2 separate regions of the Homo sapiens genome follow, and region 2 is linked to region 1. The links are contacts of gene promoters, found by promoter capture Hi-C in human tissues and cell types (Jung and others, 2019). All regions are on one chromosome and are shown on one strand. The core of a region is centred on a gene start or on the middle of the fragment in contact, and the rest is flanking DNA. Distances in the headings are between cores, read along the strand shown. Region 1 holds the start of ACOT6 (acyl-CoA thioesterase 6). Region 2 overlaps MIDEAS (mitotic deacetylase associated SANT domain protein).

What was found. Contacts are between HindIII fragments. The study calls those that stand out against the background at their distance.
Region 2: a fragment that was not itself captured here is called in contact with the fragment with the promoter of ACOT6 in region 1 in 1 of the 25 tissues and cell types used here (hippocampus).

What each region holds. Positions count from the first base shown.
Region 1 is chr14:73,608,997-73,615,933 of GRCh38, forward strand. ACOT6 (acyl-CoA thioesterase 6) reads left to right here and starts at 3,521. Exons shown (of 3, transcript NM_001365788.1): 1 at 3,521-4,036. The coding sequence starts at 3,576. It also overlaps a transcript of HEATR4 not described here. RefSeq lists enhancers at 3,632-3,681, 3,699-4,198, 3,732-3,781 and a silencer at 4,857-5,101. The HindIII fragment of the contact is 22,654 bases long and covers 1-6,937 here.
Region 2 is chr14:73,751,971-73,758,907 of GRCh38, forward strand. The region is part of intron 1 of MIDEAS (mitotic deacetylase associated SANT domain protein); the gene reads right to left. MIR4505 (microRNA 4505) reads left to right here and starts at 6,777; the gene lies at 6,777-6,849. RefSeq lists enhancers at 2,397-2,646, 2,947-3,016, 3,047-3,126, 4,530-4,609, 6,301-6,350 and a silencer at 4,396-4,690. The HindIII fragment of the contact is 7,118 bases long and covers 506-6,937 here.

The DNA.
Region 1 (6,937 bases), core at 2,271-4,770:
TGATTCAATTTCCTCCCACCAGGTCCCTCCCAGGACATATGGGGATTATGGGAACTATAATTCAAGATGAGATTTGGGTGGGGACACAGCCAAACCATATCAGGTGTAATGCTAACCCTCTGTGTACAGGTTTTGTGAACGATATTGATTGTATGGGGGAGACTGAGCTCATGTCACTATGCCATCAATGAGAATTGGCTGGTGAATACCAATCCTCCATAGCCATGACTGGGTTGCTGAATAAAATGATGCAGTGTGCATCCAAAAGCTGCCTCTTCCTCTGTGGGTGATCTGGGAGTGAGCCAAACATGGGATGGACAATGTCATACCTGGAAAGCTGGCAGATGATGGGATCCTGGACATTGGGCATGCTGGGGGTGCTCCTGCATATCACCCCTGGGTACAAGAAACATCATTGGGCCAGTAGTCTAAAAGTATGCACCATGCTTATTAGGAACCTGCCAGGTCGTGGCTGATTCTAGGTTTAGGTCCTCTATGAAATTTTTGGTACCATATATAGGAGTCAGTGCTCATGAAAAAAATGATAAGAAAACTGTGCCTGATATTGCTGCTTCCAGTGCCACTGCCTTGGCAGCACAGGGACATCCTTCAACTCCCTTGGGAAGGTTGTTCTATTATTTATTTTATTTTATTTTATTTTTGAGACAGAATCTCGCTCTGTTACCCAGGCTGGAATGCAGTGGTGCGATCTCGGCTCACCACAACCTCTGCCTCCCGGGTTCAAGCAATTCTCCTGCCTCAGCCTCCCGAGTAGCTGGGACTACAGGCACGCACCACCATGCCTGGCTAATTTTTGTATTTTTAGTAGAGACGGGGTTTCACCATGTTGGCCAGACTGGTCTCAAACTCCTGACCTCGTGATCCACCCGCCTCAGCCTCCCAAAGTGCTGAGATTACAGGCATGAGCCACCGCGCCTGGCCAGGTTGTTTTAAACAACAGAATTCCTCTACCCTTTTTTTTTTTAGACTAATTGGGAGGAGTGTGTGCCACTGCCAACACCTCCTGGTGTACCTGGATAAACACCTCAGGCATGGTGGAGACATAGGTAGAGGATCTGGAAGCAGGCCTACTGGTTGCAGTCAGAGTGGCTACCTAAAGAATCTTTCTTGGACCTCAAAACTTCTTGCCTGGATCACTAGGACTTGGGGGTAGGCCACAGCTCCAAGCAAGCCTGATCATCCTGCTTATTATAGTAGTCTCCTGGGCCTAATGCAATATATTCCGGCCATGGCTTAACAATGTTGCACCGAGATTGTTTCAGTCAAGTGTCGCTTTTTTTTTTTTTTCTTTTAGAGGGAGTCTTGCTCTGTCGCTCAGGCTGGAGAGCAGTGGCGAGATCTCGGCTCACTGCAATCACCACCTCCCGGGTTCAAGCAATTCTCCTGCCGCCGCCTTCTGAATAGCTGGGATTACAGGCGCGTGCTGCCACGTTCAGCTAATTTTTGTATTTTTAGTAGAGACAGGGTTTCACCATGTTGGCCAGGCTGGTCTCAAACTCCTGACCCCAAGTCATCCGCCCCCCTCGGCCTCCCAAAGTGCTGGGATTACAGGCATTAGCCACCGTGCCCGACCAAGGTGCCATATTAATATGATCAGACAAACCTCTGCCTCCAGATCCTGGGGGTCTGGAGGGCATATGAAATGTACTAGGTTTACTAAAGGAGGTATCTGGGTTGGGGATGGACTGCAGGGCAGTTCTCTGGTTGGCCTTGGACTGACTCAGTTCTCCCCTCTTTCTCACTAGTAGTTCTCAAGCATAGAACGTGCTGGGAATGTAACATCCTGAGAGAGGGACGGACTGGCTGGAATAGCCCTGGCTCTATTCCAGCCCCTCCCTACAAACAGGATGTCTTTCAATGCTTTAACCCAGCAGTCACATGACCCCAGAGTACAAAACTCAGGGCAGCTGCAGTGCAAGTGGGGCACACACACATGAGATTCCATCACCCAGGCAGCATTCCTGAGCCTTGGGGGACTGGTTTCCAATGATTCTTAGGCTTCTGTCATTCTTTGCTGCCTATCTGTAAGTAATAAATCCAGTTCATGTAAATTGTTGTATTAAATATATGAATGTGTTTTCTCACTGGACTCAGACAAGTTGGTAACCAGCATACAGTGAACTTGCTTCATAGAGTCTAATACCTTTTTGTTCAGTTTATACATGTTTACTGAGCTGGGCATCACTATATGCTCTTCTTCCTTCTCCACCCTGCTATGTTCCCAGCTAGGTTGAGCTGTGTGGTTGGGTTTGGCCAAAGAGAGGCATTAGCAAGATACTGAAAAACAAGAGGAGAGTCAAGGGACTTATAGTCTCCTCCTTCCTGCCACAAACCATAGGTTCCTTCTAAAAAAGGTACAACTCCTATCAGACTGCCCCCTTCCCTTGAACCTTCAGATTCAGGGTTCTACACCGAATCTTGTTTCATTGTTTTTGTTTTTAAATCTTGCCCATGCCTTTGTAGATAGTACCTTTATAAAACTCTCCTCAATTACACAGGCTGAGAGTGCCACTTGCTTACTGCCAGAACTCTGTATGCATACAACCCAAAATGGACTCTGCCAGTGATTAGATTTGTGAGGTAAGAAACAAAACAAAACTTTCACTGGGTACTAACCTACAGGTGTGTCAGTGTAGTGTTTTTACACATTAGCCCATTTAATGGTCACAATAAGCCTTTTCAGATAAGAAAACTGAATTTAGAGGGTTATGTTTCTTGCTAAAGATCACCAGGTATTAATATTAAGGATCAGGGTCAGACCAGAACTCGGCTAGGTCTGCCTCCCTAAACATCTGCTTTGCTCCAGGTACCATTAGCCCTGGAAAAAAGGCTTGGTAAGGGACTGAGGGGTAAAGGACGGATTACGACCATGTTTCTCCAAGGGGTCACCTGAGTACAATCACCTGGGATGCTTTTTCAAAATCTAGATTCTTGGACTGTATCTCTCTCAATCCTTTAGCTCTCAGTGGTTTTTGTGCCTCTATTTCGACACTCACCACATTGGATTGCAGGAATAGTCATTAACTCTTTTTTTTTTTTTTTAGACGGAGTTTTGCCCTTGTTGCCTAGGCTGGAGTACAATGGTGCAATCTTGGCTCAATGCAACCTCTGCCTCCTGGGTTCAAGCAATTCTTCTGCCTCAGCCTCCCAAGTAGCCGGGATTACAGGCATGCGCCACCACACCTGGCTATTTTGTATTTTCAGTAGAGATGAGGTTTCACTCTGTTGGTCAGGCTGGTCTTGAACTCCTAACCTCAGGTGTGATCCACCCACCTCGGCCTCCCAAAGTTCTAGGATCACAGGCGTGATCCACCGCCCCCGGCCGGATTGGTCATTAACTCTTATTTCAGCAGATACTCTTTCATTTGGGACACTGGTGTATTTGCACAAATTCTAGGCGCCCCACGCAGCGGCCTGGAGCCTGTCCCCAAGTCCAACCAATGGGAGTAGTGTTAAGGGCTCCGCCCTCGACTACTTTCCAGCGCTCGGCAAAGCCGCCAGGCCCGCCCACTGACTCCGCGGAGCTGGGTCGCCCCTGTTCTACCCAGATTGGGATGGCAGCGACGCTGATCCTGGAGCCCGCGGGCCGCTGCTGCTGGGACGAGCCGCTGCGCATCGCAGTGCGCGGCCTGGCCCCGGAGCAGCCAGTCACGCTGCGCACGTCCCTGCGCGACGAAGAGGGCGCGCTCTTCCGGGCCCACGCGCGCTACCGTGCCGACGCCCGCGACGAGCTGGACCTGGAGCGCGCGCCCGCGCTGGGAGGCAGCTTCGCGGGGCTCCAGCCCATGGGGCTGCTGTGGGCGTTGGAGCCCGAGAAAGCCTTGGTGCGGCTGGTGAAGCGCGACGTGCGGACGCCCTTCGCCGTGGAGCTGGAAGTGCTGGACGGCCACGACACCGAGCCCGGGCGGCTGCTGTGCCTGGCGCAGAACAAGCGCGACTTTCTCCGGCCGGGGGTGCGGCGCGAGCCGGTGCGCGCGGGCCCGGTGCGCGCCGCGCTCTTCCTGCCGCCGGATGAGTAGTCTGCCCAGAATTTGGTCGAGCTCTGCGACCCCCACCGGCCCCTTTCCTGTCCTGGGAATCGCGTGATTGTGGAACATCCCTGAACTTGTTCCTTCGCTCCAGAGTCTGTCATGGATTCTGAGTCTGGGCGTCCGCTGTTGCCCAGGCTGGAGTGCCGTGGCTGGATCGTAGCTCACACTGCAGCCTCGAACTCCTGGGCTCAAGTCCTCTCGCCTCAGCCTCCTGAGTAGCTACTCCAGTCTTTCCTTTTTAAGTTTCACGTCCCTCCCTGGAGGCACCACCACTTTAGCTATGTGCTGAATAGTGCATTCAACTTATTATATATTTATTGAGAGCCACTATGTGCCAGCCATGTGGTTTTGTTTGAATACGATATGGGCAAAACCTTAAGCTGATGTGCAAGAAGGATTTTTGCCTCCTTTCACATCAAACTTCCAAAGAAGCTAAAATCCACAGTATTGGCAATGCCCTTTAATTGTTTAAAAACACACACAAAACTGCCTGACAGTCCTCTCCCTTCTATCATAAACATGCTGTACGTGGTTCTCAACCTGCAATGATTAGCCGCCCTCCCTGGGGGAAATTTGGCAATATCTGGAGACATTTGTGGTTGTCATATCTGAAGGGAGAGGTGCTATTGGCATCTAGCAGGCAGAGGCCAGAGATGCTGCTAAACATTCCACAATGCACAGGACAACCACCAGAACAAAGAATTATCTTGCTGAAAATGTCTGTACTACTGAGGTTGAGGAACCCTAGTCTAAGTAAACACAGGATGTTTGCTAGGTAAAGGTAGCCCAGAAAGAAGACTCCTGATTAATCCCTTCTAACTAAATTCCTGACTTAAACCTCTACCATATAAAAATGATGAGCCGGGCACAGTGGCTCAGGCCTGTAATCCCAGCACTTTGGGAGGCTGAGGTGGGCAGATCACTTGAGCCCAGGAGTTCAAGACCAGCCTGGGCAACATGGTGAAACTCTGTCTCTACAAAAAAAAAAAAAAAAAAAAAAAAATTAGGCAGGCATGGTGGTGCATGCCTGTAGTCCCAGCTGCTTGGGAGGCTGAGGTGGGAGGATTGTTTGATATCAGGAAGTAGAGGTTGCAGTGAGCTGAGATCACGCCACTGCATTCCAGCCTGGACAACAGAGTGAAACCCTGCCTCAAACAACAACAACAACAACAAATTCTAGAGTTGCAACAGCACATAGAATCCTTAAACCGAATTCTGTGATTATTCTCCAAAACAAGAAAACTTGCTTTATTTTTACAGCTCTTCAGCAATTCTTAGCCTTAACTCGTGGCTGCCCACTGTACTGTGAATTCCTGGGGCTGGAATTGGGTCTTACAGATTTCTAAATATCCATGTTCCTAGAGGCTTTCGCAAGGATATAGTAGGAGCTCAATAAATCATACTGACTGGGCCAGGCGCAGTGGCTCACACCTGTAATCCTAGCACTTTGGGAGGCTGAGGTGGGTGGATCACTTGAGGCCAGGAGTTCAAGACTAGCCTGGCCAACATGGCAAAACCCTACCTCTACTAATTATATAATACAAAAAAATTAGCCAGGCATAGTGGCTCACACATGTAGTCCCAGCTACTAGGGAGGCTGAGGTGGGAGAATCGCTTGAACCCGGGAGGCTGAGGTTGCAGTGAGCCAAGATTGCGCCACTACACTTCAGCCTGGGCGACAGAGCGAGACCCTGTCTCAAAAAAAAAAAAAAAAAAATCACACTGACTAAGAATCAACTAAAACCTTTCATTAAAAACAAACAAGGAGCCGGGCGCAGTGGCTCACGCCTGTAATCCCAGCACTTTGGGAGGCCGAGGCAGGTGGATCACCTGAGGTCAGGAGTTCGAGACCAGCCTGACCAACATGGTGAAACCCCGTCTCTACTAAAAATACAAAAGTTAGCCGGGCATGGTGGTGGGTGCCTGTAATCTCAGGAGGCTGAGGCAGGAGAATCTCTTGAACCCAGGGGGCAGAGGTTGCAGTGAGCCAAGATCGCACCGTTGCACTCCAGCCTGGAGGACAGAGCAAGACTCCATCTCAAAAAAAAAAACAAGGCGGCCAGGCGCGGTGGCTCACGCCTCTAATCCCGGCACTTTGGGAGGCCAAGGTGGGTGGATCACGAGGTCAGGAGTTCAAGACCAGCCTGGCCAAGATGGTGAAACCCTGTCTCTACTAAAAATACAAAAAATTAGCCGGGCATGGTGGCGGGCGCCTGTAATCCCAGCTACTCAGGAGGCTGAGGCAGGAGAATTGCTTGAACCCGGCAGGTGGAGGTTGCAGTGAGCCAAAATCACACCACATCACTCCAGCCTGGGCAACAGAGAGAGACTCTGTCTGATAAAAAAAAAAAAAAAAAAACAAAAAACAAAAAAAACCAGCAACAACGAAAAAAAAAACAAGACTGGGCGCAGTGGCTTACGCCTGTAATCCCAACACTTCGGGAGGCCAAGGTGGGCGGATCATCTGAGGTCAGGAGTTTGAGACCAGCCTCACCAACATGGTGAAACCCCATCTCTACTAAAAATACAAAATTAGCCAGGTGTGGTGGCACATGCCTGTAATACCAACTACTCGGGAGGCTGAGGCAGGAGAATCGCTTGAACCCGGGGGGAGACGGAGGTTGCAGTGAGCCGAGATCGCACCATTGCACTGCAGCCTGGGCAACAAGAGTGAAACCTTGTCTCAACAAACAAACAAACAAACAAACAAACAAACAAACAGGCTGAGTGCAGTGGCTCGCACTTAAAATCCCAGCACTTGAAGAGGCCGAGGTGGGAGCATTGCAGTGGGAGGATTGCTTGAGGCCAGGAGTTTGAGACTAGCCCAGGCAGCATAGTGAGACCCTATTTCTATAAAAAGTTAAAAATTAGCCAAGCATAGGGGC
Region 2 (6,937 bases), core at 2,815-5,314, 140 kb after region 1:
CTGTCCCTTCTCCTGGCACCCTGAGCTCTGGGTCAAATCAGGTCTCTGCTTGGGTTCCCCCACTCAGGACACTGAGCATTAGCCCCCAGCCACAGCCACCCATATCTCCACATGGTGCTCTCAGAGTGTTGCTTCTCCCAATAACTTAACTTCCTAAATAAAATATATTCATCGCACATCCCGAGTAGAGGAGACAGAGGTGCCCACTCACTCCAAAGATCATTTGTCCAAACCTCAATTTCATGGCTCATAGAACCAAGACCTCAAAGGTAAAATGACCTGCCTAAGGACACATGGCTGACTACCTGAGCAGAGCTATAGTGACGGCCTCCCAGGTAGATGTTCTCACACTTAGCACCCCTAGACCTGGCATTGCCAGGTCCTTGACATTCGTCTGGGGGAGGTAAAGCAGGGGGTGTAGCATGTGTGTCAAGCCTACCAAGTCTTCATCAACCCAGGCTCTCCTGACTGGTCAGGGCTGGAAAGGGCCAAGACCCACCTGGTGCTTGGGGGTTGGATGGGTCGGTGTCTGGCAGTGTAGTGTGAGAGTAAAGAACGGGGGCAATATGGCTCCCTAGTACATGCTAGCGACCAGGAAGCAAAAAAATTTGCCACCAGCAGAGGGAGGGGAGTCTCAGTGTGGCTGCCTGGGGCCTCCTAGAAGGGCTGCAAACTGGGCACAGACAGACGCCCATTTGACTCCAGAGCCATCACATCAGCCTCACGCCCTTCCTCAGGCCCTGGTCAAGATGCAAGACTTTTGCCAAAGGCTCACACATTCTTTGCATTTCTCCAGTCTCTGAGCAGCTGCTGCAGGGCCTTTTCTCCTATGTTGATTTATTCTTTATTGTTCCTGAAATACACCCAGAGGCCTTTGGCACAGCATGCGGGCACAGCAGAGCATCCAGCCCAAGCCCCAAGTACACACCAACCAGACTCTCTGGGACCTGGGCCAAGCCAGCTGGAATGATGGGCCCCAGGTCAGACCCAGCAGCCAAGAAGGGAGACCAAAGATTCCACCTAGCCCCAGCCTTTGATTCCCCAGAGCTGTTCTCAGTACCTCAGAGGCTGGGATACCTTTAAGGGGGAGGACACACTTGGGAGGTCCCCAGGAAGCCCACACTAAGCTGAAACCAAGCCTTTCCCCTCTTCCTGTGCATGTGCCTGGCCGAGCAGTCCCCAGGCCCACAGCTGAGTCCTCCACAGAAGGGCCTCAGGGCTCAAGGCTGGGCTCCTGGCTGCCCTGTGAAGCATCTGGAGAGGGAGGCAGCAGGGAGGTCTTCCCCACCCTTCCCAGCCCAAGATATCTCCCCTACCAGCCAGTCTAATGGTGCCTGAATTCCTACTATCAGCACTTCATACCAAGGATCAAAGCATTGTTCCTTGTGCACATGAAAATAGCCGGAGGAAGTGTGGGAGCTGCAGGGTAAAAGTAGTCAGGGGCAATGTGTGCTGGCTTCTCCAATCACCAGCCTCTGTGAGCCTGGGGTTCCCTATTGGTGAATGGGCACAACAGTTTCATCTCAGTTATTGTGGGATTCAATGAGGTAATACATAGATGAAGCGCCGCCTGGCACAGGGTACGCACTCAATAAATGTGTTTCCTGTCTCCCTTGCTGGGTAGGGGTGGCTCAGACATCGTTATCAGTCTTTAACACCTTGGAGGAAATGAATAGTCCAACTCTTCCAGTTCCACAGCTGGCTGAGAGCAAGGCTGGCCAGGCAAGGGCGGGACAGGGAGACTCAAAGTCCTAGCAACAGTGTGGGGCTCTGCAGGCACGCAGAGCTTCCGGCCTACAGACCCAGGAGAGAGAGGTCTGGCCAGAAAGTCCAGAGGGCACCCAGCACAGGCCTCCTTTAAACTCAGCTATGCCAGCAGGGCCTGCCTACAGGGATACAGGGGGATGAGGGTATTTCCCAGATAATACCGGCAGAGCTTCCAGGCCCAAAGGATGAGCCGCCACCTCCTGGATTCACTCTAAGAAGAGCAATAAAGGGGAAGGTGCGATGGCCAGAGGGAGGCTGAGGAAGGGCTGCAGGAAGTAGAAGGGACTCCAGTGTGGCAGAGACACAGGGCCTACAGAAAGCAAGCAAGCCTGCCCAGAGGCCACCACAGTAAATGTCCCACAAGTGGAAGTGCCCGCCTGGTTATTTTTGGCGCCTCTTCTGCCCAAAGCCAGTAAGGAAAGGCAGCTGCTAGCAACACAGAAGGGCTGTTTACACTCAAGTGTGCAAGCACTGCAACAGGGACAGAAAGCACAACTAGCAGCCACCATGCAGATGGGCCTCTGCCCCGTTTTTCCCCTCCCAACTGTCCCCCGTTGTGTGCTGCACAGCTGACACAGTGTGGGTACTTCTGCTTTCACTCAGATCCAGCCTCCCAACCACAGGACTCACTCACGCACATGCAAACAAATAAATAACTATGGAGCCAGCTGAGGACTGAGCCACACCCAGGAGCCAAGACAGTATTCCTTTGGATTCTTCCTGCGCTCAAGCTGCCCTCCCAGCTTCCAAACTGGGAGAAGCAGCCACCAGGCGCAGGACACAGGAGCAGTCCCTTTCCACCCTCCCAAAGTGAAAGTGGAGACAGTCTTTACAACCTCAAGCATCTCACCACCTCTCGGCTTCCCCATTTGAAAATGAAGGATTCGGACTAGATGTCCCAAATGGTTTCCCAGCTCTGGAATTAGGACTATGACCCAAGACCAGCTGGGGCCTCAGACAGAGGAAGGCCAGGAGGGGAGGAGGATCTGTGCCAGGAACTGCCAGCTCACATGCCGTCTCGGGGTTGCAAGTTATCACTTAAGCCCATTTCTGAGCTATGGGGGCCTTACCTACTAAAGAAATGGCAAGTTCTGGCAACGGTAAGTTGGATAGGGTCCTCTGTCTGCCCAACTACTGGGAAAAGCAGGGAATCAAAATCTCTCACCATTTTCCTTCTTGTCTGGATTCCAATTCCCCAGAGAAGCTGAGCGGCTTTAGAGAGAAGCCCCTTCTGGCCAGCTACAAGCCTACTGTAGCTCACTCTCTCCATCCAAGCTTTAACTGGGATAAACCTTGCCCTGTGCTTTCCCCACTCTCCTTCCTTCCCAGGACTCCTGAAGGAAGAAGCACTGCCTGGAAAAAATGCTCTCACCACGAAAGCTCCCTGCGGCTGGGAGAAAGGCAGAGGGAACAGGGAGCACCTTCCCTGGCTGGCCACAGCACGAGGCTGTGTTCCAGGAAGAGCAACAGCAAGGGCGGCTGCCAGGGAAGCCTCAGCCCCAAGCCCCGGCTCTTCCCCACCAGCTCTTCCCCACCAGCCGAGAATGACAGCCAGCAACTGCAGCCCTCAGGGAGACCCCCAGCCCCACCCCAGCACAACTCCGGCTCTCCTCTGACAGTGGCAACTTTCTTCTTATATAATTCTTGGTGTTTCCTTCACCGTTGCACATAATTTTAATGGGTAAAAGAGCCAAAGCAGTCTTTAAGGAAAAACTCCCACCCTTGGCTCTACCCAAACCTCCTGCGAGGTCACACTGCGAGGCTTCAGGTGAAGCAAACAGGGGACTTTTTTTCCTTGGCTGAGAAAGCAGCCTTCCTCCTGCCCACCCACGTGAGCAGCTCAGCCTGGGGCCTGGGCGGGTAGGTTCCTGAGAGCACAATCTGATCTCTGGGAAGCTGGGCCCTCAACCCTCGGCTGCAGGGCCACAGTCCCTCTCAAAGGCACACAGACACTGGGTCTGGGCCACATGTCTAGGGTGGAGTGGATCAAGCTGTTGTTCCCAGGGCACAATAAACTTCATTTATACAAGCTTCAGTGGCCTGGTAGATTGCTTTCCTACTATAAACAGGACACCCTTCATTTTCTCTTCCTTGATAGGAGTCAAAGGCAAACACACTGGATCCAGTGGGAACTGGTGAAATGAGAGTTGCCATCTGTTGAATACCTAGTATGTGTCATTCACTCTGCATGCATAATCCTGTCTAATCTTCACAGCCTATGAAGTACTAGTATCATCCACATTTTACAGGTGAGGCAACTGAGGCCCAAGAAGTTAAGCAATGCCCAAAGCCACACAGCAAGAGGAGATGCTGGGGTATGAACTCAGGTCTGCCCAGGCCTCATTCCCACGCACCCATCAGACTTCCTTCAGTCACTGCCCAAGTGACTGTCCACACACCATCCAGGAACGGCGTTCTGAGTGTGGAAGCAGAAGTCGGTGTGGATGAATTTTGCTGGAGGCCTCCAGAATCTGAACTGATGCTCCAACTATTATTGCTCCCAAGTGTGTGACTGCGAGAGCCCATGTCAGTGTGTGTGTGTGTGTGTGTGTGTGTGTGCGCGCGCGCGTGCGCGCTGAGGTGGAGGGAGGGTGATCTGGATTCCAAATTGCAGTTTCCAACATTAAAGTTATGCTGTAATGCTTCTGATTCATAAAATGAGCTCATAGTCTCACAGTATCCTGAATGTTGCTTCGAATGCAAATGCAGGTCCCTTAGTAAGAATTGGGGATTTCAGCCTACTCCACCCTAGCCCCGGCCCAGCATGCAATTTTTCAGTCCCAGAGTCAAGAGTTCTCATGTGCAGAAAGAAGCAATTCCTCCAACAGAATGCGGCCACTGGCTCTGCTTCCTGCCACCTGCAGTGAGTCAGGGAAGAATGGAGCCCCAGGCTGCTTCTGTACTGATGCATGCACGCCTGCACACACACAGGAAGGGTGCCAATCTGGGCTGACCAAAGGAAGTGCCCAGGCTAGCAGATCCCTAGGGAGATGGCTCCACAACTCTTTCACCCTGAGGTCCCCTTAGGGTCAGGATGACCGACACATGCACTCCACAAGGCCAGCTACAGGGCAGTGCCAGGAAACTGGGTTCACCAGCCCCAGAATCACCCACGGTGGACTGACATTTTTGAAACCAGTGATGCAATCTGAGGAGGTTCCAGGAGCAGGGACTCACTGGGCCCAACACATGACAAGTACACATTTTTTTTGATGGAGATCTTTCACTAATTTGTTCAACTAACATGCACTAAGACCAGGTGAGGTAGTTCAAGACTGTAATCCCAGCACTTTGGGAGGCCAAAGTGGGTGGATTTCTTGAGCCCAAGAGTTCAAGACCAGCCTGGGCAACATGGCAAAACCCCATATCTACAAAAATAGAAAAATTAGCCAGGTGTGGTGATGTGTACCCGTAGTCCCAGCTACTTGGGAGGCTGAGGTGGGAAGATTGCTTGAGCCCAGGAGGCTGAGATTGCAGCGACCTGAGATCGCACTACTGCACTCCAGCCTGGGCGACAGAGAAAGACCCTATCTCTAACAACCAAAAAAAAAAAAAAACACTAAACACTTACTAGATGCCAAGCAGCATTGTGGGACCCATTCAAGCAGAGGCTACCAAATACTGAAATGTGCTTTAAGCATTTTACGTATACTAACTCACAGAATCCTCACAGCAACTCTATGAAGGAGATACTGTATAGGAACTCTAACTCAGAGTCTTTGTTTTTGACCACCACACTGCAGTATGTACACAAATAACTACATAAGGTGGAAATGAGTGTTCAGAAGATGGCTACAGCCTTCAGAAGTGGCATTTGAAACAGGATTAGAAGGATAAGCTGGAAACCCCCAGCCACTTTGTGGCTGTCCCCACCCCAGCATGAGCAAAGTTTTCTTCTGGGAGACCCAAATGCAAGAGAGGGGCTCTCAACCTGAAGATTCCTGGACTGGGCCCATTCCCCTTCCCCTCTTCTGTCAGAGGTCTTGGCACCCCTGGGCAGCCTTTCTCTGGGGACTCTAGACACAGGAGGCCCTCAGCTGAATCCACAACTGCATGTTGTCTTTTCTTGTGTTCCACTTATTGAAAGCAGCAGCACACAGGGTCAAACACTGGGGCTATTTTAAAATCCCACATGTAAAAATTAAATTCTCATCCCCATGGGCACTCCAGGGCGCTCTTTCCTGGGGCGGGGTGAGGAGCTGACAGAGTCACGGGAGTGGGGGTTCTGCTGGCACTTGGAGAGGCCACACTGGCAGTGGCTAGGCTGTTCCAGAGCAAGCTGGCAAGCTGTATGACCTGGGGGCATCCTCCAGGTTCTTCACCCCCTTGTCCCCCCGGGAGCTACACGGACCAGAGTAACCAGCCAGAGGCCAATCCAATTAGAGTGGAGACTGGACCAGGGCCATGCAACGAGATGGTTTATCACAGTAATTGAATGTTTACGCTCCTATTATTCACTGTCCAGAGCAGTTGGAAAAGGAAGACCTACGAATTCTCAACCCGGGAAGGCTTCTCCTTTTCCCTGGGTTCTGAAGCCACTTAACACCCAAGGAAAGGGTGCATTTCTCTGATCCAAAAGGGGCGTGTGCCACACCTTTGGTGGGAGGCTCTAGAGCAAGACAGGTGGTTTCTCCCCTCAGCTGAGGCCCCCTAGGGAGGACTGGCTTCTCGGTCCACCTTCACTAGGCCTTCAGTCTCAACCCTGAAGCTACAGGAACAAGAAGATCCCAGATCACCTGGCCAGGCTCCCCCTGCTGGAGCAAGCCAGACATCCCCTCCCTCCCCCAGCCGCAGCTGCCAACAGGGATCCCCTGCATACGCGGGCCACCGGGGCCTCCGTGGCCAGCCTCTCTTCCCCCATCCCACCGCCCCCCGCGCGAGGCTCCACAGGCTGGCACACAGGTCCCACGTGGGATGGTGGAAACAGGAAGCAGCCACCGTAGTTGTGACCAACAAAGTTTTAAATGGGGCATATAACTTCCCCTTTCATCTTCTCACCAGCTCTCGCTGGAGGCTGGGCTGGGACGGACACCCGGCCTCCACTTTCTGTGGCAGGTACCTCCTCCATGTCGGCCCGCCTTGGGGCTGAAGCCTGAAGGCCCCAGGGCACACGAAGTTCCCCTTCCTCCCCTAGACCTTTACCCAGAGGCCTTGGGGGCAACCTGACACA